Linked DNA regions of Homo sapiens: all the other regions are linked to region 4. Evidence: promoter capture Hi-C in 16 types of primary human blood cells and fetal thymus (Javierre and others, 2016). All regions are on one chromosome and are shown on one strand. Each heading gives the region's core, a stretch centred on a gene start or on the middle of the fragment in contact. The rest is flanking DNA. Distances are from core to core; before and after follow the strand shown.

Evidence for each region. The method cuts DNA at HindIII sites, captures the fragments that hold promoters and counts their contacts. A CHiCAGO score of 5 or more calls a contact.
Region 1: a fragment that was not itself captured here is called in contact with the fragment with the promoter of SRFBP1 in region 4 in 1 of 17 cell types (naive CD8 T cells); the score reaches 5.4 in naive CD8 T cells.
Region 2: the fragment with the promoter of ATG12 here is called in contact with the fragment with the promoter of SRFBP1 in region 4 in 2 of 17 cell types (total CD4 T cells and naive CD8 T cells); the score reaches 5.8 in total CD4 T cells.
Region 3: a contact is called between the fragment with the promoter of TMED7 here and the fragment with the promoter of SRFBP1 in region 4, in 3 of 17 cell types (non-activated CD4 T cells, naive CD4 T cells and activated CD4 T cells). The highest score is 13.7, in non-activated CD4 T cells.
Region 5: a contact is called between a fragment that was not itself captured here and the fragment with the promoter of SRFBP1 in region 4, in 1 of 17 cell types (total B cells). The highest score is 5.9, in total B cells.
Region 6: a contact is called between a fragment that was not itself captured here and the fragment with the promoter of SRFBP1 in region 4, in 1 of 17 cell types (naive CD8 T cells). The highest score is 5.9, in naive CD8 T cells.
Region 7: a contact is called between a fragment that was not itself captured here and the fragment with the promoter of SRFBP1 in region 4, in 1 of 17 cell types (naive B cells). The highest score is 5.6, in naive B cells.

What each region holds. Positions count from the first base shown.
Region 1 is chr5:116,095,251-116,098,552 of GRCh38, reverse strand. The region is part of intron 4 of COMMD10 (COMM domain containing 10); the gene reads right to left. Among named protein-coding and RNA genes, the nearest start is that of COMMD10, 12 kb to the right of the region's middle. The HindIII fragment of the contact is 263 bases long and covers 1,435-1,697 here.
Region 2 is chr5:115,840,315-115,843,383 of GRCh38, reverse strand. It overlaps ATG12 (autophagy related 12), which reads left to right and starts at 1,819. Exons shown (of 4, transcript NM_004707.4): 1 at 1,819-1,994. The coding sequence starts at 1,832. AP3S1 (adaptor related protein complex 3 subunit sigma 1) reads right to left here and starts at 1,449. Exons shown (of 6, transcript NM_001284.4): 1 at 1,278-1,449. The coding sequence starts at 1,346. RefSeq lists enhancers at 603-812, 1,803-1,852, 1,863-2,162, 1,551-2,452, 2,456-2,956 and silencers at 903-1,092, 1,193-1,572. The HindIII fragment of the contact is 16,491 bases long and covers 1-3,069 here.
Region 3 is chr5:115,624,440-115,627,470 of GRCh38, reverse strand. It overlaps TMED7 (transmembrane p24 trafficking protein 7), which reads left to right and starts at 1,435. Exons shown (of 3, transcript NM_181836.6): 1 at 1,435-1,870. The coding sequence starts at 1,679. TMED7-TICAM2 (TMED7-TICAM2 readthrough) reads left to right here and starts at 1,435. Exons shown (of 4, transcript NM_001164469.4): 1 at 1,435-1,870. The coding sequence starts at 1,679. RefSeq lists an enhancer at 1,370-1,539 and a silencer at 1,710-1,779. The HindIII fragment of the contact is 9,571 bases long and covers 1-3,031 here.
Region 4 is chr5:121,960,151-121,963,394 of GRCh38, reverse strand. SRFBP1 (serum response factor binding protein 1) reads right to left here and starts at 1,420. Exons shown (of 8, transcript NM_152546.3): 1 at 1,327-1,420. The coding sequence starts at 1,362. RefSeq lists enhancers at 1,435-1,484, 1,229-1,767. The HindIII fragment of the contact is 3,156 bases long and covers 44-3,199 here.
Region 5 is chr5:113,514,417-113,517,265 of GRCh38, reverse strand. It overlaps YTHDC2 (YTH N6-methyladenosine RNA binding protein C2), which reads right to left. Exons shown (of 30, transcript NM_022828.5): 2 at 1,904-1,994. Among named protein-coding and RNA genes, the nearest start is that of YTHDC2, 2.1 kb to the right of the region's middle. The HindIII fragment of the contact is 580 bases long and covers 1,011-1,590 here.
Region 6 is chr5:116,059,312-116,062,557 of GRCh38, reverse strand. It overlaps ARL14EPL (ARF like GTPase 14 effector protein like), which reads right to left. Exons shown (of 4, transcript NM_001195581.2): 4 at 3,069-3,246. Among named protein-coding and RNA genes, the nearest start is that of COMMD10, 24 kb to the left of the region's middle. The HindIII fragment of the contact is 4,719 bases long and covers 1-3,246 here.
Region 7 is chr5:128,074,374-128,077,452 of GRCh38, reverse strand. The region is part of intron 1 of SLC12A2-DT (SLC12A2 divergent transcript); the gene reads left to right. Among named protein-coding and RNA genes, the nearest start is that of SLC12A2-DT, 7.3 kb to the left of the region's middle. The HindIII fragment of the contact is 4,703 bases long and covers 1-3,079 here.

The sequences.
Region 1 (3,302 bases), core at 317-2,816, 5.9 Mb after region 4:
AATGACAACACATCATTTCTGTGGATTTAACATAGTACTCAGCACATGGCAAATTCAAGTTTCACTTTTTGGAATTTTTTGTTTCCCAAATATTCTTGATCTGCTGCGAGTTTAATCCATGAATACGAAATCCAGGGATACAGAGGGCTGACTGTACTACCAACATGTGTTCTGCTGCAAGCACCCCACAGTTTATGTGGGTAGGACCCTAAGTTACCATAAAACAGTTAAAGTCATTGCATGTACACCTTTTTTCATCATATAAGTCAGTGTAATATATTTTTGTTACAATTTAAATGGCATGATCTGTTTTCACATCTGGCTATTTTGGCCACAGTATCCTAAACAGTTCTCAGAATGAAAAAGAAAGATAGCATTACAGCTGCCAGAGGTAGCATGATATAAAAGGAATAAGACTTAGAGACAGACAGATCCAATCCTCATTTCAGTTTCATCATGGACCACTTGGGATAATATGATAAAGTGACTAATATTTTCTAAAGTTTTATTTCCTCACTTTTAAAAGGTATGTGACATGGTTTGGATCTGTGACCACAACAAATCTCATGTGCAATTGTAATCTCCAGTGTTGGAGGTGGGCCCGGTGGGAGGTGACTGGATCATGGGGGCAGGCTTCTCATGAATGCTTTAGCACCATCCCTTCAGTGCTATTCTTGTGATAGTTGAGTTCTCGCAAGACCTGCTTGTTCAAAAGTATGTAGCCCCTCCCTCCTCCCTCTCTCTCTTGTTCCTGCTCCTGCCATGAAAGACACCTGCTCCCCATTCACCTTCCACCATGACTGTAAGTTTCCTGAGGCCTCCCCAGAAGCCAAGCAGATGCCAGCACATCATGCTTCCCGTACAGCCTGCAGAACCGTGGGCAAATTACACCTCTTTTCTTTATATAATTACCCTATTTCAGGTTATTTATAGCAATGTGAGAATGGACTAATATGAAGTACATACAAACAACTATATAAATCACCCTGCATAATGCCTGACGCAGAAAAATTCCGCAGCTAACATCTATGTGTTAGGATAGCATAATAGCTTAGGAATGTGACTATTCTTGTCAAATCCCAACTCAGCCACTTACTTAGCTGTACAATCATGGGCAACTTTTTAAACCTCTCTAAGCCTCAATTTTATAAGTACATGTATAAACTAGAACTATTAATGGGTTTTGTAACATACAAAGAACTCATTATAACATCTGACCCACAATAAGCACAATAAATGCTTGTTATCATTATATTATTTAAGCATTTCAGACTTTAAAATAGTATATTAGCAATCCTATGATATACCCAGAATTACCAAAAGATAATTTCCAGCATTCTCAATGGGACAATGTACAATTAATCAGATCATTCCAACTTCTTTATTTGCATATTTTATATGACAAATGATTAATTAATTTCTTAAAGAGAAGCTTCTGTAATCCAACTATGGGAAAAATATTACCTTTAAAAAAACAAACTTTCATCATGAAGACACTAAAAAGTAATTTACTATTAGAAGCAGAAAACAAAAATATTTTTAATTGTTATGACTACTAAAGTGCAAGGAAAAAAACGGACTGTATAAAATATAGGAAAAATATAAACAGAAAACAGGCTACTATTAAAAAGCCAAGAATTTTTTTTAAAAATGAAAATGGCTTAAAAAAAGAATTGCAGGGAAACAAATGGAAAGCTTAAAATCTATAGAGGATATAGGAAAAAGTAGACTTTAAAATGATAAAAAATGAAGCAATGACATAGAAGACACTTGAGAGTAGTAAGAATACAGAATTTTTAAAAAGGGAAGTAGAGAAGTGAAAACAATAAAGGGGCATTTTCTAACATCCTACTTAATGATAAGAGCCTGAATGCTTTCACCCTAAAATTGGGAACAAGGCAAGGATATTCAGACTTACCACTCCTATTCAGCATCACGTTGGAAGTCCTTGTCAGTAAAATAAAGCAAGAAAAATAAAAGCTCTACAGATTGAAAAGGAAGAAATAAAACTGTCTTTATTCACAGACAACGTGACTGCCTTCAAAGGAAATCACAAAAAACCTATAAGAAAGCTGCTAAAACTAATTAGTGAATTTACCAAGTTACAGGATAGAGATCAGTATAGAAAAGTCTACTGTATTTCCATATACTATCAATAAGCCATTGGAAAACAAAATTTGAAAAATACTACCAATAGTTCAACAACAAAAAAAAAAAGAAAGAAAAAGTACTTAAGGTACAAACCTAACAAAATAAGGGCAGGATTGATAAGCTGAAAACAAAAGACACTGATAAAAGAAATCAAAGAAGACCTAAATAAATAGATATACTCAATACTTATTAAGGAGTCATTTCTCAATAAAGTTATTTACAAATTAAACACAACCCCAATCAATACCCCAAGCAGGATTTTTTACAGAAATACAAAAGCTGATTTTCAAACATATGAAAAGGCAAAGAAACTAGGATTGCCAAAACAATTATAAAAAAGAAGAAAAAAGTCAGTGGGTTCACAATACCTGATTTTAACACTTACTATTAAGCTATAATAATTAAGGCAGTGTGATATTGGCATAGACAAATAAGTCAATGAAATCAAAGAGAGATTCCAGAAAAAGACTCACAAAAATATCAAATGATTTTAGACAAACACATGGTAATTCAATGACAAAATGATAATTTTAACAACAAATCACATTGGAGCAAATGAACATCCATACATAGAAAAAATGAACTTTGACCTGCACTTTATGTATCATACAAAATTAACAGTAAATGGATTTTAGATCTAAACATAAAATATAAATATGTAAAACATTTAGAAGAAAACAGTAAATATTTATGTCATGATTAGGCTGCAAATTCCTAGAAAACCAGAAGTAGGTTCATGAAAAGAGAAAAAAAAAATACAACAGATTTCATCAAAGTTAATGGTTCTGTTCTGGGAAAGATACTGTTAAGAGAATGAAAAGGAAAGCTACAGATTAGGAGAAAATACGTGCAAATCATATATCTCACAGAGGACTTCTAGAGAATATACAGATGCTCCTTGACTTACAATGGGCTTATGCCTCAATTAATCTATCGTTAAGTTAAAATACAATAATTCACAAATGTATTTAATACACTTAATCTACCAAACATCACAGCTTAGCTTAGCTAACCTTAGACATGTTCAGTATACTTACATTAGCCTGTGGTTGAGCAAAATCATCTAACACAAAGCCTATTTGTTAATCAATACATAATATTTTTGCATATTTATGAGATATGTGTTATATTTTCTTATATGCATAGACTGT
Region 2 (3,069 bases), core at 570-3,069, 6.1 Mb after region 4:
GAAGAATAAGCTCAAGATTTCTCACTTCAACTAACACCTCCAGACTGCATTATCATTTTAGGCAAACTGACATTTTCACATTTACTTTGTAATGGCAAGATTGATTTCCATCTGGGACTTATCTGCATAAAAGTGTTAGCCTTGGCACAATTTCAAAATTGAATTGAAAGCTCATTTCTTGCTATAAGCAAAGTGCCACAATACCACACAACAGTTATACCTCACATTAATCCTACCACTGGGAGTCCAATTTTATGTGTTTCAGCTAGCGAATTCTGCCCTCAGGTAAGCACATAACTCTATAAAACCCTTCCTCGATCATCAACAAATCACTTATCTCTACTACCTTAATGCCTCCTGCACTTGTCCATACTAAACAGTATTTACACGTTAAAAGAGAAGTTCTACAAATGCTACTATTCTTCATAAATAGAAAAAAACTATAAATGAGGGCAAATTCCCATACGTGGAAAAATGCCAAACCAGAAGCTGAAATCATAACTTTTAGGTATAGAACCACAGCTCCAATCAGTCAACTACAAACGTCGCCGGTTACTTCGAGGGTAAATAATTTGCAGCCAGCTGGTAAAAAGCCTGATAAAAATATTAGGTCCTCACATATCTTCCTTTTCAATAAGGAGACACCTGAAAGTCACACTGGGCAGTCTGTCACGTATCGAAACATGCAGAAGAGAGACTGTACAGAACGTGCAGTTATCAAACGCAGGAAGCCAAAGTTCCTGTGCTATGAGAGGACCACAGTGAAAAACGGTAGCCCATCTGTCCAAAGAACAGAAAGAAGTCCACCTGGAAAGGATGGGAGTCGGCGGAGGGGGGCGAGAAGAACGAGTTCCACGCCGTCTTCCTCCTCCCGGGCTAACTGCAGCCGCGGGCGGCAGGAAGGCAGCCGCGCGGGGTGGGCTCTTGGGGACTGGGCGCAGGGCTCCGCGGCGCGGCTGGGCTGCGGCTGCCCGATCGGCGAGGGCCGGGCCCCGGGAAGTCTCCAGGGCCTCGCCCGCGCAGCCAGGAAAGCATGCAGCCCACCGACGGGCGGAGGAACCGCCCGGGCAAAGCCACGTCGGTGGCTGACCGCGCGGCAGGGAGGTGGGCACCCTGTCCACACCCACCAGGAGGCTGACAGCTGGCGAGCGCCAGGCGGCCGGGACGGGACAAGGGCCGCAGCGCGCCGGAGGGGGTCGCTCTGAGAAAGCCGCGCTGGGCGCTGCCCGTCGCCAACGACTCCCCCTCGCCCGGATCAGCGGCGGCTGGATACTCACGTAGGGCTGGTAGAACTTGGAGAGCCGCGGCTTCCCGTGGTTGTTGAAGATTAGGATCGCCTTGATCATGGCTGTGCCGGGCCGACCGGGTGGGCACTGGGGGCCAGGGCGGGGGCGGGCGCGCGAGCCTCGCCTCGTAATCTCGCCTGCGATCCTTCCCCACCCGCCCCCTCCCGCACGCGACCGCGCGCGCTCCCGAGCCGTCGGGCGGGGCCCAAGGGGCGGGGCCTGGGCGGGGCAGGCACTAAGGAAAGCGGAAACATTTCTAGGTCCGAGCCAGCGGCCTAACTGGAGTGTGCGCATTCGACCGAGCACAGACACGTTGCCCACCGCTCCTCTCCCGAGGTCTGTAGTCGCGGAGAAACACATGTTGCGTTACTAACGTTCAGAGGTCTGCGACAGCTTCGATTTGAATGACTAGCCGGGAACACCAAGTTTCACTGTGTAATTGCGTCCCCCTACTCCGGCGCCTCCTTTGCGACGCTCCCTGGAGAAAAGCACGCCCACTGCACGCGCTCAGTCGCTACTTCCGCTCTCGAGTGTCTCCAAGCAAGATGGCGGAGGAGCCGCAGTCTGTGTTGCAGCTTCCTACTTCAATTGCTGCTGGAGGGGAAGGACTTACGGATGTCTCCCCAGAAACAACCACCCCGGAGCCCCCGTCTTCCGCTGCAGTTTCCCCGGGAACAGAGGAACCTGCTGGCGACACCAAGAAAAAAAGTAACTGAATTTATTTCCGGGCAGAGAGGCGGGAGGTTCAGATTGCATCCGAGTAGGGGTGGCGGCCAGTAAAGAAGCAAAATTTAGAGGAGCGCCTGTCCTAGACCTGCATTTTGACCAGTCATCAGAAGAAAAGAAGTGTACTTTTTGATTTTTAAGGCCTTTAAGTTGAGTGTTAAAATACCATCTCTGTCTATCGGTGTAGGGCCTGATACTTGGCTGCCACACTTATTTTTATACTGTATTTTTTTGAGTTGGCCAGACTGCGAGCTCTTTGAAGGAGGGAGGGAGCTGAGTGGGGCGGGGGGAGGGGGGTCTCGGTAATTCCAGGTACTTAACACAGGAGCTAATTATTTGAGTAATGTTTTATGGTGGTAGGGGTGGTCATTGGCAAAGCCTGGATTAGAATTCATGCCTTCCAACTTAACTCGCTTTTGCTTTTTTCCCCCTCCCAGTTGGTTGTGAATTCACTCCTTAAACCAAAAACCAAATTCTTATGCAGAATGAAGACTGCTAAGGGAAAGCTAAAGGCATAGATGTTACCTTTTTAAGAAACACATTTTGGAACCTTTGTGAGTTATTTCATTGCTTGAGTCAGCTATCCTCAACCCTTTATTGCTTGAGAATGTTTCCCTTTGTAAAAGAGATTGCTAAAATTACGTGTTCTAAAGCACTCTGTTTAGAGTTAGAGTTGCCTATGGGAAAAGCAGCATATAAGCATCCTCGATTCAGAGAGGCTGATTTCGTCCTTAGACGTTTTCCCCGTTCTGTCTTAAGATGACAGTGGTCTCTGGCCGGGCGCGGTGGCTCACTCCTGTAATCCCAGCACTTTGGTAGGCTGAGGCGGGTGGATCACCTGAGGTCAAGAGTTCGAGACCAGCCTGGCCAACATGGTAAGACTCCATCTCTACTAAAAATATAAAAGTTAGATGGGTGTGGTGGCGCGCGCCTGTAATCCCAGCTACTCGGGAGGCTGAGGCAGGAGAATCGCTTGAACCCGCGAGGCGGAGGTGGCAGTGGGCGGAGGTCTCGCCATTGCACTCCAGCCTGGACAACAAGAGCGAAACTCCGCCTC
Region 3 (3,031 bases), core at 186-2,685, 6.3 Mb after region 4:
TTAACTTAATTACATCTGCAAAAGCCCTATTTCCAAATAAAATCATATTCACAGGGGTGGAGGGGTTGAAACTTGGACATGTATTTTTTAGGGGGACACAATTCAACTCACTGCACACATTTACATAAATAACACATCTTTTAATAAAAATATTTTCGAAATAAAAATTTAGCAAGAAGAGTGACCTTATTTTTGTAAATCTTTCATATCTAGATTTAAGGAAGAAGCTGGGTGCTCATTTCCTTTGATATTCAATCTGTTATGCTGTTTTGGTTGAAATATATAATGAAAATCCAGCTTCATACAGATCATTACATACCCTCTGAAAGGGTTTCAGGAGGCTTCTGGGGACTTCAGAGCAACACTTGAGAACCACTGCTCTAAAGCATATACTCCATAAATATATGTAAAATGGAATTTCCAGGCTGTGGCTACATATTCCAGGCTATATATATATATATATATATACATATATACACACACACACACACACACTGTATATAGGTGTGTGTGTTCTGTGTGTGTATACATATATTCTACTTTATTAGATAATGGCACATTGTTTTCCAACTTGATTAACCAATTTACTTTTTCACTAGCAGTGTATAAGAGGTTTTGTGGCTCTATAAGTCGACCAATATCTGTTATTGTTACACTTAAAATTTTTGCCTATCTTGTGGTATGTAATGTATTGATTGCACTGTGACGTTTAATTTAACAAAAGTTCATCTAGTGCTTGCTATGTACCAACCACTTCTAGGTACTTTTTCCAAATATTGGTACTTTGTAATAATTCTCTATGGTAGGTGCTATTATCTCCATTCTACAGATACACACTGAGGCAGAGAATTTAAGCAAGTGGCCGGACGTCACACAGCCAGTACGTGGCAAAGCAGGGATTAAGCACTCCTGCAGTCTGCTCTTAGAATTCGCGCTCCTTGCCCAGCTGCTTCCCCCAAATATTTATTATTACTTATGAGAAAACTCCGCAAATTGCAAAGCGCTCTACCACCAACGATTAGCACCCTAGGGCAAAATGAGCCCTTTACCACTCCCTAGATGCTCCCCAGCGCTAAGTTCCCAGCGGAGGTTGCAGTGAGCGCAGATCGCGCCACTGCACTCCAGCCTGGGTGACAGGGCGAGACTCTTGTCTCAAAAAAAAAAAAAAAAAAACAACAAAAAAAGCCAGTGATTGGAGCGTAATTACCCTCGCCAACCGCCTGTAACCACGGCGGCCGCCACGCCCCGTTTCCTGGTCTCGCCCCTCTCCGCCCACGACTCTGGCCCCGCCCCTCGTCCCAGGCTGCAACGGAGGCAGAGCCAACGCCTCGCGGGCTTCCACGTACGCACTCCAACGCGTGTTCCCGGAGAAGAACGCATCCGGGTCACGGGAGCCGGTGTCTCAGGCTCCGCCCCTTCACCCCCCGAAAGGCTAATCCCCACTTCCGACCCTCTCAGGCCTTTTCCGCTTCTCTTTTACCTCCCCAGGTCCGCCCGTCTGCGCCCCTCACAGGAAGCCGGAGGGTCGCTCTGATCCCGAATCTCCCACAGGCGTGAACCTGCTCTGCTGTGTATCTTTGCGGGGTGGCCTGCGCTGAGGCCTGCCGCGCGCGGTGAGTCCGCGCAGACCTGACCCTGCGTCTCGCAGCTCGGTTGAGGCCGCCGCCGCCTTCTCGGGATGCCGCGGCCGGGGTCCGCGCAGCGCTGGGCGGCCGTCGCGGGCCGTTGGGGGTGCAGGCTGCTCGCACTGCTGCTACTGGTGCCTGGACCCGGCGGCGCCTCTGAGATCACCTTCGAGCTTCCTGACAACGCCAAGCAGTGCTTCTACGAGGACATCGCTCAGGGCACCAAGTGCACCCTGGAGTTCCAGGTATCAGGGGCCTAGCAGTCCCTGGGCCCCAACTCGCGGCTCCAGGATTGGGGGTGTAACTTGAGGGATGGCACTTTCCTGTCCGTGTTTCCCCGTTCTTAGGCTAATTCAAAAATCGCTTCTAGGTAGCTGATGCCCAGCATTTGACTTTCCTCTAATAAACCTTGGGTGAGAGATGTTAAGACCGGGTGTTAAAATATATGAATTCCAGAAATGCTCCCTTTAGCATTTCTTTCCATCTCATTTTTAAGGCCTATTGAACTTTCTTCCTTAAAAGATTCCCTTAAAGAAAATCATTTATACTCTGTAGTACCCAGTGTCAACCCTCTACTCTCTAATCCACACCTCCAATTTAATTGGATTTGGAGTGCTGCCAATGTCTAACTTCATTGCTTTTCAGTTTTACCAATATTAGGACTGTTGGTTAATACGGTCCTTGTCATTGGAAGAGCTCCATTACAGGTTGAACGGCCATTTGCCAAGGGAGTTGTAGAAAGAATTGCTGTGATAAATGAGAGGCCCCTTCTGATATTTGGGATTATATAAAAAAGAAACTTTAACAGAATGTGGTTTATTCGGTTGGTTAGAACAGTCTTTACTGAGCTTCAATTTTGGTTGGTAGGCGCATTTAACATTTGAGTAGCTATTGAATACTAGGTGCCAGTGGTACAGAAGTGGTCGAAACAGATAGGGTCACTGCCATCATTCATGATTCCCCTCTCACCCTGCTTTTCTTAACTGGTATCTGCTCATTCATCAGAACTGTGCCTTAAGAGCAGTAAGTAGGATCCATGAAGGAAGACTTCCTTTGGAAAATTATTTTAAGCTGAACTTTAAAGGATGAGCTATAAACACCTTGGTAAGGGAGGAGGGGGAATAGCCTGTGGTAGTAGTGAACACTGAGAATTTCAGGGCCATAGAGAGAGGTCCAATATGGTTGGGAATAAGGAGCCAGAGCAAGGGGGTCAGCAGGGGCAGGCCAGATAGTGTCTTGCTGACCATGTTAAGGATTTGTTTTTCCTGAAAGTGTAGGAAGCCATCAGAGGGTTATAAGCAGTTCAGTGATATGACGAGAATATTCTTGGTAGCTGCATTAATAATAACTTGTGCAGGTAGAGAAGTGATGGTAAGATGTTGCAGAGCGGATGTGGAAGGCTGATT
Region 4 (3,244 bases), core at 171-2,670:
GCAAAATAGCCCACCAAACGCTTTCTGGCACAAAGCACAAGCTTAATGTATGTTTATGAGTAAATAGTAACTACTTTCAGCTTCCCTCTTCAGCATATCCTGTACTCCACTGTCAACTGAAATCCTGACTCGTTAATCTGGCAGCAGAGAATATATTTCAGTTTTATTTCCTTCTTCATCTCACAAGTTCCCATCAGTGAAGAGTTACTTATCCCTGTATTACCCACGGGTTCTTCTGCTACTAGCCCTTTCCTGCTTATACCAGTCCCTCTGCCTGGAATGACTTCTTCCCCTTTCCTGAATCACTGACTGCAATTCCTGTGCAAGATCCCTAAAGACCAAGGACAAGTATCACCCATTTCATTTTGCCGCCTTTGGAAACTTTTCTGCATTACTAGGTTTTGGAGGCATTCTTCACACATTGTTCTGTAACACAGGTGAGTGTTGCTTAGCTCTCTTACTTGAGTATAGGTTACTAGAAAATATGAAATATCCCTTACACTACTGTGTGTAATCTAAACAGTGACTTGCTCATAAACGGGATAAAGAATTTCCTTTCTGTATCTAACTGTGAGGTCCTTACTCGATCCTTATGTTTCCAGCTTACTTTAAGACTTTGGATGACATTATTTTGTTGAATAGAAGCAGAAACCAGAGGGGGATAAGTGGTAGAAATGGTATTTTGTCGACACCGCACACTATGGAAGTGACGGTGGTGAGAACAAATGTCTGATGAGAATGGACTGAAAAAGCAGAAAAAAGAATTGAGGATAGCAAGTATAAACAGCTCTTTATTGAAGTTCTGCTGTAAACGGAAGCAAAGAAATAGGACACTAACTGGAAGAGGAAACGAAGTACTGAGCATACAGTCTCATTCAAGACCACCAATTTCTTAGAAGCTACAGCTCTTACTTTCTCTCTTTCATTTTCGACAGGCAATAAAGAGCAGGTAATGTGTACTGAAAGTTTATTAAGGGTCAGGCACTTGCAAATACTTTACGTATCTCAGTTAATCTCACAACCCTGGGACGAACTATCTTGAGTTCCGCTTTACAGACGAGAATATTGAACGTACAGGCTAAAGGTTCTTCCCAAAGTCCCACAGACATAAATTCGTGGGGCCTGACACATGTCTCTCACTTTAGTCACCTGGAGACCGAAAAGGGAAATTACCGGTTGCCAAACTCCAAGTTGCGGGAAACCCGCCTGGGCCCACCACGAAAGTTCCTCCAACCGCACCCTCTATGCCCGCCTCCGACCACGCGTCTCAAAAGAGCTGGTTTTGAGGACCCTTAAAGTCAGCCCCATAGGTTCCTCGGCGCTCACCTCGTTATTGAGGTTCAGAGTTCCCGGCTGAGCCATGGTAGATGAAGGAATATGATCCGCCGCTGCCTGCACGTGAACCGGTCTCTCAGACCGCGGCTGCGTCGCCACGCCCCTCAACGGAAGCCTCTTCTGTCCAAAACTCATCCGCCTTCTGCTCTAGCTGCCGCCTGGGAACAAGAAACATTGACGCTTGGAAGGGAAAACCGGAACTGAGACAGAACAACTACCGGCGCAGAGGGCTACGCAACGGAATTGCGCGTTCCTATGGAAACCAGACGGGGGCTGGTAGCTGGGCAACGTCTAGTTTTTCAAGATTCGGTTTGTGTGTGTGTGTGTGTGTGTGTGTGTGTGTGTGTGTGTGTGTGTGTGTTCCCTTGGTACACTGCGCTCGCATTGTACCGGCCTTGGTTTTTCTCTCTAATGGCTAGGGGGGCGCTGAACGGCGGTGAAAGAGCTCTTCTGAAATGATCACTTGAATGAACGATTTTTTGCTTCCATTTTTTTAAATCTAGTATTTGTGAAGATTTCTGCTTTTCTAACAAGCACACCTTTTTAAATCCTCGCAGTTTTTTGTTACAACCTGACATTATAGCTGAGGTGCGGACATTTTTTTCCTGCACACTATAGAAGGGTTTAAATTTAGGGAATAAACATTTGAAGCAAAACCAGGATACACATTTGGTACTGCCTGTGGGAATGGCTGTTTATTAGCCGGCAAGCATAGGAGACGTAAGGGAGTGTGTTTGAATTAGGTAATATATAATTGTCAACACCTTCTAGTATTGACCATTAAAATGTGTCAAATGGTGGTCCAAGAGCTTTACATAAATTAGCTCCAAATCTCCACAGAAATCCAACAAGATAGAAATTATTTTCCTTTTATTAATATTATTTTGTTAGAGACCCAGTCTCTCTTTGTCATCCAGGCTGGTGTGCAGTGGCACAGTCATAGCTCACTGCAGCCTCAAACTCTTGGGCTCAAGCCATCCTCTCACCTCAGCCTTCCAAATAACTAGGACTACAGGAGTGAGCCACCCTACTCTGCTCTGAACTATTATTTTACAGATGTGGAAAGTGACTTCAGAGGCACCAAGTGCCTCGCCCAGAGTCACTTGCCTGGGACTGTCCACTGCTACAGGACTTCAAGTCCAGCTACATAATACCTGGGGTACAGTGCAAAATGAAAATCCAGGCCCCTTTATTCAAAATGCAGGAAAAACGTTTCTTCCGGCGGAGGGTGGTGGCTCATGCCTGTAATCCCAGTACTTTAGGAAGCCTAGGCGGGCGGATCACCTGAGGTCGGGAGTTCGAGACCAGCCTGACCAACGTGGAGAAACCCCGTCTCTACTAAAAATACAAAATTAGCCGACCGTGGTGACGCATGCTTGTAATCCCAGCTACTCGGGAGGCTGAGGCAGGAGAATCACTTGAACCTGGGAGGCGGAGGTTGCCGTGAGCCAAGATCACTCCAGACTGGGCAACAAGAGTGAAACTTCGTCTCAAAAAAAAAAAAAAGTTTCTTCCATAGCGTCTCTTGACTCATCATGGTGTTTGTTAATTTACTATTTAATACGATGCTCCCTAAAGCACAGAGACATTAGGTTGTCAGGGCAGACCCTCAAAGGTGCCTGAGACCCCTGCCCCAAGACTCAGGTAGGAGTGTATACACTGGAGCAAGGTGGCAGCAGTTGCTGGGTGGAGACAGGAGAGCAGGAAACCAGAGAATCCACCTGAGGAGCTTTTGGGGACAGGACCACACATGACCTGAGACAACAAGGCCTTGGCACATGTTCCATTATCCCACTAGACTTCACTTACAAAACTCAAATTCAAAAAGGAAATCACTAATAATTTCAAGACTGTGCCCAAAGCTTAGTTAACCAAGGCCCACTTCTGAGCCTTTGCCGAAGAAACCAGC
Region 5 (2,849 bases), core at 51-2,550, 8.4 Mb after region 4:
TTTAAGTTTGCAGTAACCTCATTTGACATCAAATGTGATCACGTGATTAAACTGACATGAGGTTATTAATAGTCTCAGTGTGAATATTCATAGAATTTCCAGCAAAAATATAAATGTGACTAAAGGTGATGGCCATATTTTATTAGGTAGATTATACAACATATTGCAAATATACCCAAATACCTTTCTAAAGTCTAAAAAATCTGAATCTCAAATATATTTAGCCCAAGTGTTTCTGGATAAAGTATTGTGGCACTGAACTATATTTTTATTTTCAGGTGCAGTATTTTTACCTACCTAGTGGACTATAAGATGGGCACATTCAGGAATCTAACCACTGTTCCAGCACTGGCCTTAGTGATGTTCAAAACGCACATTCACCTAAACTAAATCCCGTGTCTCAGTAATTTATCACTGTAGTAGGCAGTCATATGCAAGACATTCCTACATCAGCTGCTTTCACTTTGGGACCATCTGAATATTTATTAATATATTTACTTAATAAAGTTTTGTTTTCCCTCTTCCTAACCTAAAAACATACCGGTAAGCTGAAATTTTATCCTTTTCTTCCCTCTATGTCAGTAGTTCTCAACCTGAGCAATTTTGCTCTCCAGAGGACATTTGGCAACCTCTAGAAGCATCTCTGGTTGTCACAACTGGGGTTAGGAGTGTTAGTGGCATGTAGTAGTAATGGCTATGGATGCTGTTAAACACCCTACAGTACACAAAACAGAATAAAGAATTATCCAGTCCAAAATGTCAATAGCACCAACAGTGAGAAAGCTTCCTTTACATTGATCCCACCATCCTTATTAACAAAATGAAATAGCGCCACAGAATTTTAGAGTTTTTCAATTTGGATGGCTCAAATGACTTTTCCCTCAATGTAACTCTGTGATCCTCCCAACAAAACAAAACAATTTCCTCCTGTACCACTTTTTAAAATCATTTCTAATCATCAGATCCTTGACTTGGTAGGAAAGAAAACAATGAACATATGCTCTAAAGCTTATTATTATATTGCAGTAACAGTAAAAGAAGTAAGTTCCATAAATAATTGCAACTATCTTTTGTACATCCATTTTTCAAATGAGATTTCTATCAAAAAATAAAAATATTTTTCTCAAGCAATCAACTTCAACTTTTAAACTATTTTTTTCTTACATCTTAAAATTTACCTTTGAAAGAGTTCACGGTATGCCACCCAAAAATATGTCACTCTGCCATAAGGATTATTTTGAGCTGAAGGCAATCGAGAAGAAGCAGACATAAGAAAAACTCCGCCTTCCCCTGCTTTACCAGAAAGGGAAGGACTATTCTTAACAAGAGAAACCACTCTAGACTCTTAATAGAGACAGCACCAGGGGAACCTACATAACCAACCTTGCTAAAAGAACACATATCTTCCATTAGTTTCCCCACATATACCTTCCCACAATTTACTGCACCTACAAGTTCAAAGTCCTTTTCCTTTGTCTTGTCATTTTTTAAATAAATTCATTGTTCTTTATTAAGATGCCACATAAGCCCCATGTTTGAGTTACTATCGAGTTCTCCCCTATGTATGCATGATGCATGTCTTAATAAGCTTATGTTTTTCTCTTGTTAATATGTCTTTTATCAGTCTAATTTGCAGGGTCCCAGCCAAGGAACCTAAGCTGGGTAGAAGAAAAAGCATTTTCCTAGGGAAAAACAAAACAAAACAAAAAAGGGGGGAAGAGGTAGACAGAGGGAAGAGGAAAGAGTTGAATTTGGTACAGACCTGAATCTTTTATCTACATATGATACAATTAAGAATGTGAAGTTAAAACAGTAATAAGTACTTAAATGTACTCAGAAACGTTTCTCCCTTTTTTGGGCAAATAATCTTTTTTAAAAAAAATAAGAAAAGCTACCAGCTTACCCTTTACTTTTAGAGACCAAACCAAGAGACTGACTGAGTCGATGAATAAAGGCTCTTTCAGTACTGGTCAAAGAAGAAGGAAATTCCATTTCTACACGGAAAAAAAACAAAGTAGTAAAATTTGTAGATAGGCAATTTTCTCTCAAGTAAAACACACAGATACAAAATATGAAAAACATACATAGACAATCAAATTTATTATACTTTATTTGAGGTTAACTTTATATTTCATATTCTATTTATGTAAATTAATAAAATTAAGATATTTTATTAATTCAATAACTACTGAATGTCTATCAGAATTCTGATATTAATAAAAAGACAGCTATGTATTAAACCTAAATGTGATAAAGGCCTCTGATATTCACCAAAAACGACTCCTCTTACTTGTTCTGGAATTTTGAGTTGGTATAATGACTGAACATATTTAACTTGGTCCCTACTTGTTTAGTTAACAAAATGTTTATTTTCTTCAATGATGAGATATGTTCAAATATTATGAATTCTCAACATGAAACTCCATTGTCTTTGCTTTCAAAACTGTACAGAATTCGTATTTCACTATTTCAGAGGGATTTGTTATATATTGCTGAGGCTTTCTCTTTTTTTAATGTGAATTTAGAATCTCTCTGTCTAGAACATTCCCCGTTTTGGACTATAAGATTCCAGAGTAAGAGGTCCCCTAACTAAGCCAGCAGGTCCGAATGAGCCCTCAACAGACTGCACAGGTCACCGCAGGTCAGTTGCTGGTTCTGCATTATATGACCCAAGACAAGTGGCTATCTAACCTCAAGAGGTGTGGAAGATGCTTCGTGTGCCAAACAAGTTTAATTTAAGTGGGTAGCGTGATGCTTCAGGGTCCAAACGTATTGCTGGTGCATTTATTTATATGTTTGATTTCTTTCTGCTCTTCTACATCTGTAGCTTAAACGTGCCACAATTAGGT
Region 6 (3,246 bases), core at 567-3,066, 5.9 Mb after region 4:
TACAACTCTAGGGGGCATAATTGGCATTGTACAGCTGTCCATGTAAAAGTCACCTTCTGGACTTAAGTAATAAATGTCCCTGCATGGCCAAACATTGAAGCCTTGCATGTGTAAATGTTTAAAAATGTCCAAAGCATTCATTACATAACTACCATCTACGACATCCACAGACTATACAAAATGGCATTGTTCACTTTTATAAAAATAGAGGTTAAATGATTTTTCTGTGAGTTAGCATCCCAACGTCTATACCTGCAATGGATCCAAGATGTTGTGTCTTGGGTGGGGGTAGCTGGAAGGGGAGGTACAGAAGGATTATCTAAGACAGTGTACAGATATTCTTTAACTCTTACAAATTACACTCAAAAGTTGTCACAAAAATTGACGTGATATGGCATTCTAGTCCAAAATCCTTGCATAAATGGGCACGGGATAATTTGTCTAAATCCTTCAGTATGTACTGGTTTAATTTAAATAACCTTTTGTAAAATAGGTTTCCTTCCATTTTACACATATTCATGAAGACATGCTATCAGCATTGAAAGATAGCCAAGCAGAAAAAAGTCCTGTCACACTGACAAGACGATTTCCTTGGGTAATGTAATCAGATAGTACAGCTGCATTCCTTGTTAATCTGAATTTAGTTCAAATAGCTAAAGAGCTTTATTCACTTTGTAATAAAAATTAGACACTTGCAAAATAAGTTTTAGACAATTCACATAAATTTATTTTTGTAATAATTATTTATTGCAAGAGAAGTTTTAGAAATACACTGAAATGGCATTAGATCAAGATGAAATAACCTGATTTCTAAAAGTGTACTTCATCAAATGCTTTACTAGGCTTCCATGATAGCAGTATTAGGTGTCTGCTTAGTTAATTATGCAGTTTTTTACTTTATTTTTTGCCTTACTTGGAAAATTTACCAGTATAATTTTTCAACACACTTTTTAAGCCAGATCATTTTAAACCAGATTCCTTTATCTAATCCTTAAGACTGAGTGACAAGAGGAGACAGAAAGGAAGGAGGCTTTAATGCTAATTTGCCTAGGATTATTTTTTAGCATGAAAATTGGACAACTGATGATATAGGGCAGTGTTTCTCAGATGTATCAGATCATAAGACTTAACTGCAATGCTTGTTTAAAATTATGGAATCCCAGGTCTCATTCCTACAGGTTCTGATTCCTGAGGTTGGGGATGGGTCTTAGGAATGTTTATTATATTAAAAGCACTTAATGACCGTAGTGTAGGAAATACGTGGCATCATTGAAAGAGCTCTGACCTAGTCTTAGTGTTCAAAACACCAGGGCTGCCAATTCTTCTGTGTGTCCTTACCTGAGTCACTTAATCTCACTGGGTCTAAATCTCCTCAGTTGCAAAGGTACAAAAACAACAACAACAAAAAAGAGTTTGGCCTTAGTCCATAAGCCCCATGAAGACAGGAGCCCTGCAGATTTTGTTCACTGCCTGGTCCCCTGCACCTAGCCTGCTGCCTGTCACAGAGCAGCCTCTCTGTTAGTATTTGTCGACTAATTCACTATATGGATGAGCTGCAAGGCTCTTTTTGGCTCTAAGATTATATGATTCTAAAATGAAGAAGTAATAAATGCATTTGGTCTGCCAATTACAAAATAATAATTATTCTCAAAAATAAAACAAGATATAAACTGAAAAAGGCCCTGCTTGTTTTTACTGGTTTCCCGGCTGCACATTCCTGGTGAGCATTTCAAAGAATGTGATTTGGGTAATTTGATTTTACGTCTTCCTTACTGGGCTGTGATGGTTAAAGGAAATGCAATTCATTACCGTGTTAACACAATGTTTAGTTCACAGTGTATGCTCAGTAAAAGTAAGTGAAATCTGGAAAACCCAGTAAATTCTATGGAGAATGATGCAGAAGAATGTAAGTTCTCTTGCTCCGTGGACAGGTGTACTGTAGTCACACCATTACTTTTAGGACTTTTCTTATTTTAGTCCTAAAACATACGTCAAGCAACAAATCCAGAACTGTCAGAAACGTTCCCTGGCACAAGTAGATTGTGCAGAAGTGAGTGTTAAACTGATTATGAAGGAAAAATAAATCCTGAAAACTCTATTTATAAAAGGCCGGTCACGGTTGCTCACACCTCTAATCCCAGCACTTTGGGAGGTGAGGCGGGCTGATCACTTGAGGTCAGGAGTTTGAGACCAGCCTGGCCAACATGGTGAAACTCCGTCTCTAATAAAAATACAAAAATTAACCGGGAGTGGTGGTGCAAGCCTGTAATCCCAGCCACTTGAGAGGCTGAGGCACGAGAATGGCTTGAGCCCAGAGGCGGGGGTTGCAGTGAACGGAGATCGCGCTACTGCACTGCAGCCTGGGTGACAGAGGGAAACTCCGTCTAAAAAAAAAAGAAAAAGAAACAACAACAACAAAAAACCCTCTATTTATACTATTTCAAATTTATTTTAAAACTTAAATGCTTTTATTTACTTTTAAATTTTTATTACGTTACTTTATTTAAATACTTCCAGCTTTGTGCAGTGGCAGTATCATAGTCAATGAGGTTTAAATACTTCCTTACATTATGTATCTAAAATAATTTAGAGAAGTGGTTCTCAAAGTGTGGTCCCCACATCAGCAGCATCAACATCACCTGGGAACGTGGAACAGATGGTTGAGCCCTGTCCCAGATTCTGAATGTGGGGCTGCAAAAATCTATGTTTTGACAAGTTCTCTAGGCAATTCTCATGAATGAGAACCATTGACTTAGGGTTAAAAAAAAGACTGTCATAAAAAAATGAATTCAAAGAAAGCTGAATTCAATATTTTATAGCTCTGATGATGTATCAAAGTTGAAAAGACTACATCATTTATCTAGTCAATTGCTTATCAACACACTCAATTAGCAAACATACAGAAAATCATTTTTGTATAACTTGTTTTCTCTCTATGAAAAACAAATCCTGAAATACTGCTTCTGAAATCAAAAATATGTAAACTCCTGGCTTTTAGGATAATAAATTCCTAACTTTTCAATTTTACAAGTACAATACAAATTTTAATGATTAAAAATACTACCAAGTATTACTAAATTTCATTTTAATGTTATTAAAACATGAACAATAAAAAAATGAGGCTATGGGTATACAGTGCAAAGTCACAGTTTTTCTTCAAAATCCAAATGGCAATTCTGATTTACAGCTAGTGATGTATAAGATTCTAAGGACAACTAGATATTATAAATTTAAGATTCTATGTTC
Region 7 (3,079 bases), core at 268-2,767, 6.1 Mb before region 4:
GCTGGTCTTGAACTCCTGGACTTAAGCAGTCTGCTTTCCAAAGTGCTAGGATTACAGGCATGAGCCACCACACCCTCATACTTGTGGAGCTATGAGGATTACATAAAGTACTATTCGTAAAATACTTAGAATAGTGCCTGATAATATGGTAAGGCCTAATGTATGTAAACAGTAAATAAATGCTTAAAACTTAATATTTTATTCAAAAAACAAACAGGGCTAAGATACAACCTTTAGGTCATATCTTTTCTTGCAAGTATGTCCTGTTTTATTTTTTACTTTGCTTTTTGTTTTGATTTTGAGAGGTATTTAGGTAATTTTTTGAGTAGCATGTAAGCTATTTTTTTTTTCTGTTACAGATTTTTAGGGCAGTTTTTAGTGTCATTATGTTGCTGCTACATATTTGGAAGATGGAACAAGCCCAGACAAAGGAGGATTCTTTTTTACTCATCTTAAATCCATTTTATTTTCCTTCATCTGAGCCCCTTAAAACTAATGTGTTACTGGTAAGTTGGTGTGTGCCTGTAGTCCCAGCTACTAGGGAGGCTAAGCCAGGAGTATCGCTTCAGCCCCAGAGTTCAAGACCAGCCTGGACAACATAGCAAGACTCCCGTCTTAGAAAAAAATCTGTACAGATATGTTATAGGAACATTTTGTCTGCATTCACTACATTGCACTATACTTTAAAAAAAAAGAGATTTAAAATACAAATACTGACACTTAACACACATGTACTCATATCTTAATAATTAGTTTAATTGCTTCCCCTTTATGGAGTCAAATAATATAATGCGTTTCCTAACTAACTGTATACTTATATTTTCCTCAATGTTAATGAAAAATCTCTAATATTTTTATCCTCTTATATTTCTTAATTATTAATCTATTTTCACTTTTAAAAAGCCATAAAAATAAGATATGTTTTTATAATTATTCTAGATGCCTGAAATTTTGTAAAAATCATAAATATGGAAAAGATCTTAAAGGGTTATGTAATAAGCCCCTACTTTGCACAATATTCTACCTCTGACACTTTTAAGAAAATAATTTCTAGTAACACATCCTAGTGGTTACAAGTCCTTATGCCATAGCATTGGACATTAATAATCACTCAAATACTTATTGAGGAATAAGATGTTCTTCCTAATGACTAAATTAAATTATTCTCATTATAATTCAATTCTTTGGCTTCTTGTCCCATTCTTCAGAGGTTATGGTAACCCGTAAAAGTGTAAGGTTATTTTCAGTTTTATTTTCTAAATGATTTCCTCTTGCATGTCATTATAGGACCAAATTTCTAAGTATGTAATTATTTTTATTACTGTCCTCTGGGCCCTTTCCAAGTAATTTAATCTTCCTTTAAATGTGGGCCAAAACTATTAGGTTCAATATGGCAGTTTTTAAAAACATGAGTATGAAGGTAAAGGCAGGTTATTACGGTTCATGTAATTGTTTTCATTTAAAACTGAAGTACCAGCTGACTTTGAATATGGCCCTGAGTATCAGCTCTTCTGATTAGTCAAGAAATGTTTCTTGTTTTTTAAGAGATTTGAACTAAAATTCCACCTCAATTGTAACCAATTTTTTTTTTTTTTTTTTTTTTTTTTGAGACTGAGTTTCTCTCTGTTGTCCAGGCTGGAGTGCAGTGGCATGATCTCGGCTCACTGCAACCTCTGCCTCCCGGGTTCAAGTGATTCTCCTGCCTCAATCTCCCAAGTAGCTGGGATTACAGGTGCTCACGAACAGGCCTGGTTAATTTTTGTATTTTTAGTAGAGATGGAGTTTTACCATGTTGGCCAGGCTGGTCTCGAACTCCTGACTTCAAGTGATCTGCCGGCCTTGACCTCCCAAAGTGCTGGGATTACAGGCTGAGACACCCACCATGCCTGGTTGAATTGTAACCAATTTCTAGAGACATAAAATTCTTAATATATATTATATAATATAGATAGATATTATTGATATATATTCCATATTATATAATTCTTGATATAATATATAATTCTTGATATATAATAGGATATATATCAAGAATTTAATATCTATAAGTCAAGTAGATATTTATTATTTATAACATCTTTCTATTTATAAAGTAATAATTAATATAGAAGTCATAGGAAAAAAGCAAAAGGAAGTAACACTTATAATGCCATCACCCTGAAATAACATTTTCCTGTTTATGGTATTACAAAATGATTTATGGTATGTTTTATAGTTTTTAAAACCAGTAATGTGAACATTTCTCTATATATGAAAATGGATATCTTGCAATTGCATGATTTCTAATGGCTTCATAATATTGCATCATGTAGATTTATCATAATTTACTGACTCTATCACCTATTTTTGAACCCTGTTTATTTCATTTTTAAATAAGAGCAAGCAGTGCTACATTGGATGTCTTTGTGCATATATCTTTCTTAATTGAGTATTTCCTTAGGATAAATTCTTAGAAGTGAAATAGCAGGGTATGTATATTTTTAAAACTTTTGGCATACATATCAAAATTGATTTTCAGAAAGGTTATTATCAATTTATCCTTCTGTCAACATTGTGTTTGAATTTCTGCCTTCCACCACCCTTATAAAGTCAGAGTAAAATCTTTCTTAATCTTTGTCAATCTGATTAGCAAAAAAAAAAAACAACAAAAGTTTAATTTGCAGATCATTGACTTCTAGTGAGGTTATAGTTTTTAAAGTTTCTTAATCATTTATATATTTTTATTTCTGAATTGCCCATTGATATCTATAGAAGACCATTACTGTATCCTAGAAGTGGGGTTTCCATTCTCTCTTGTTGTGGTAATAGCATACACATTTTTCTTGTTGTTTTTGTTTGGGTTTTGTTTTGTTTCTTTGGTGAGGTGGGGGTAATTCTTTTACTGGAATTACCTCTCTGTGTGTAGTTTTGGAAGGACATAATAGAGGAGCTTGCCTGCCCCAGCCAAATTGTGAGCATATGACCAAATGTGCCAATCTGGCTCTCATAAGTGTTTTGAATTTTGGGTGGTGTGATGCAAAGTCAGAAAAGTAAGTCCAGTTGTGGGACTCTTAGTTGCTTATATCTCACTTCCTCCCTC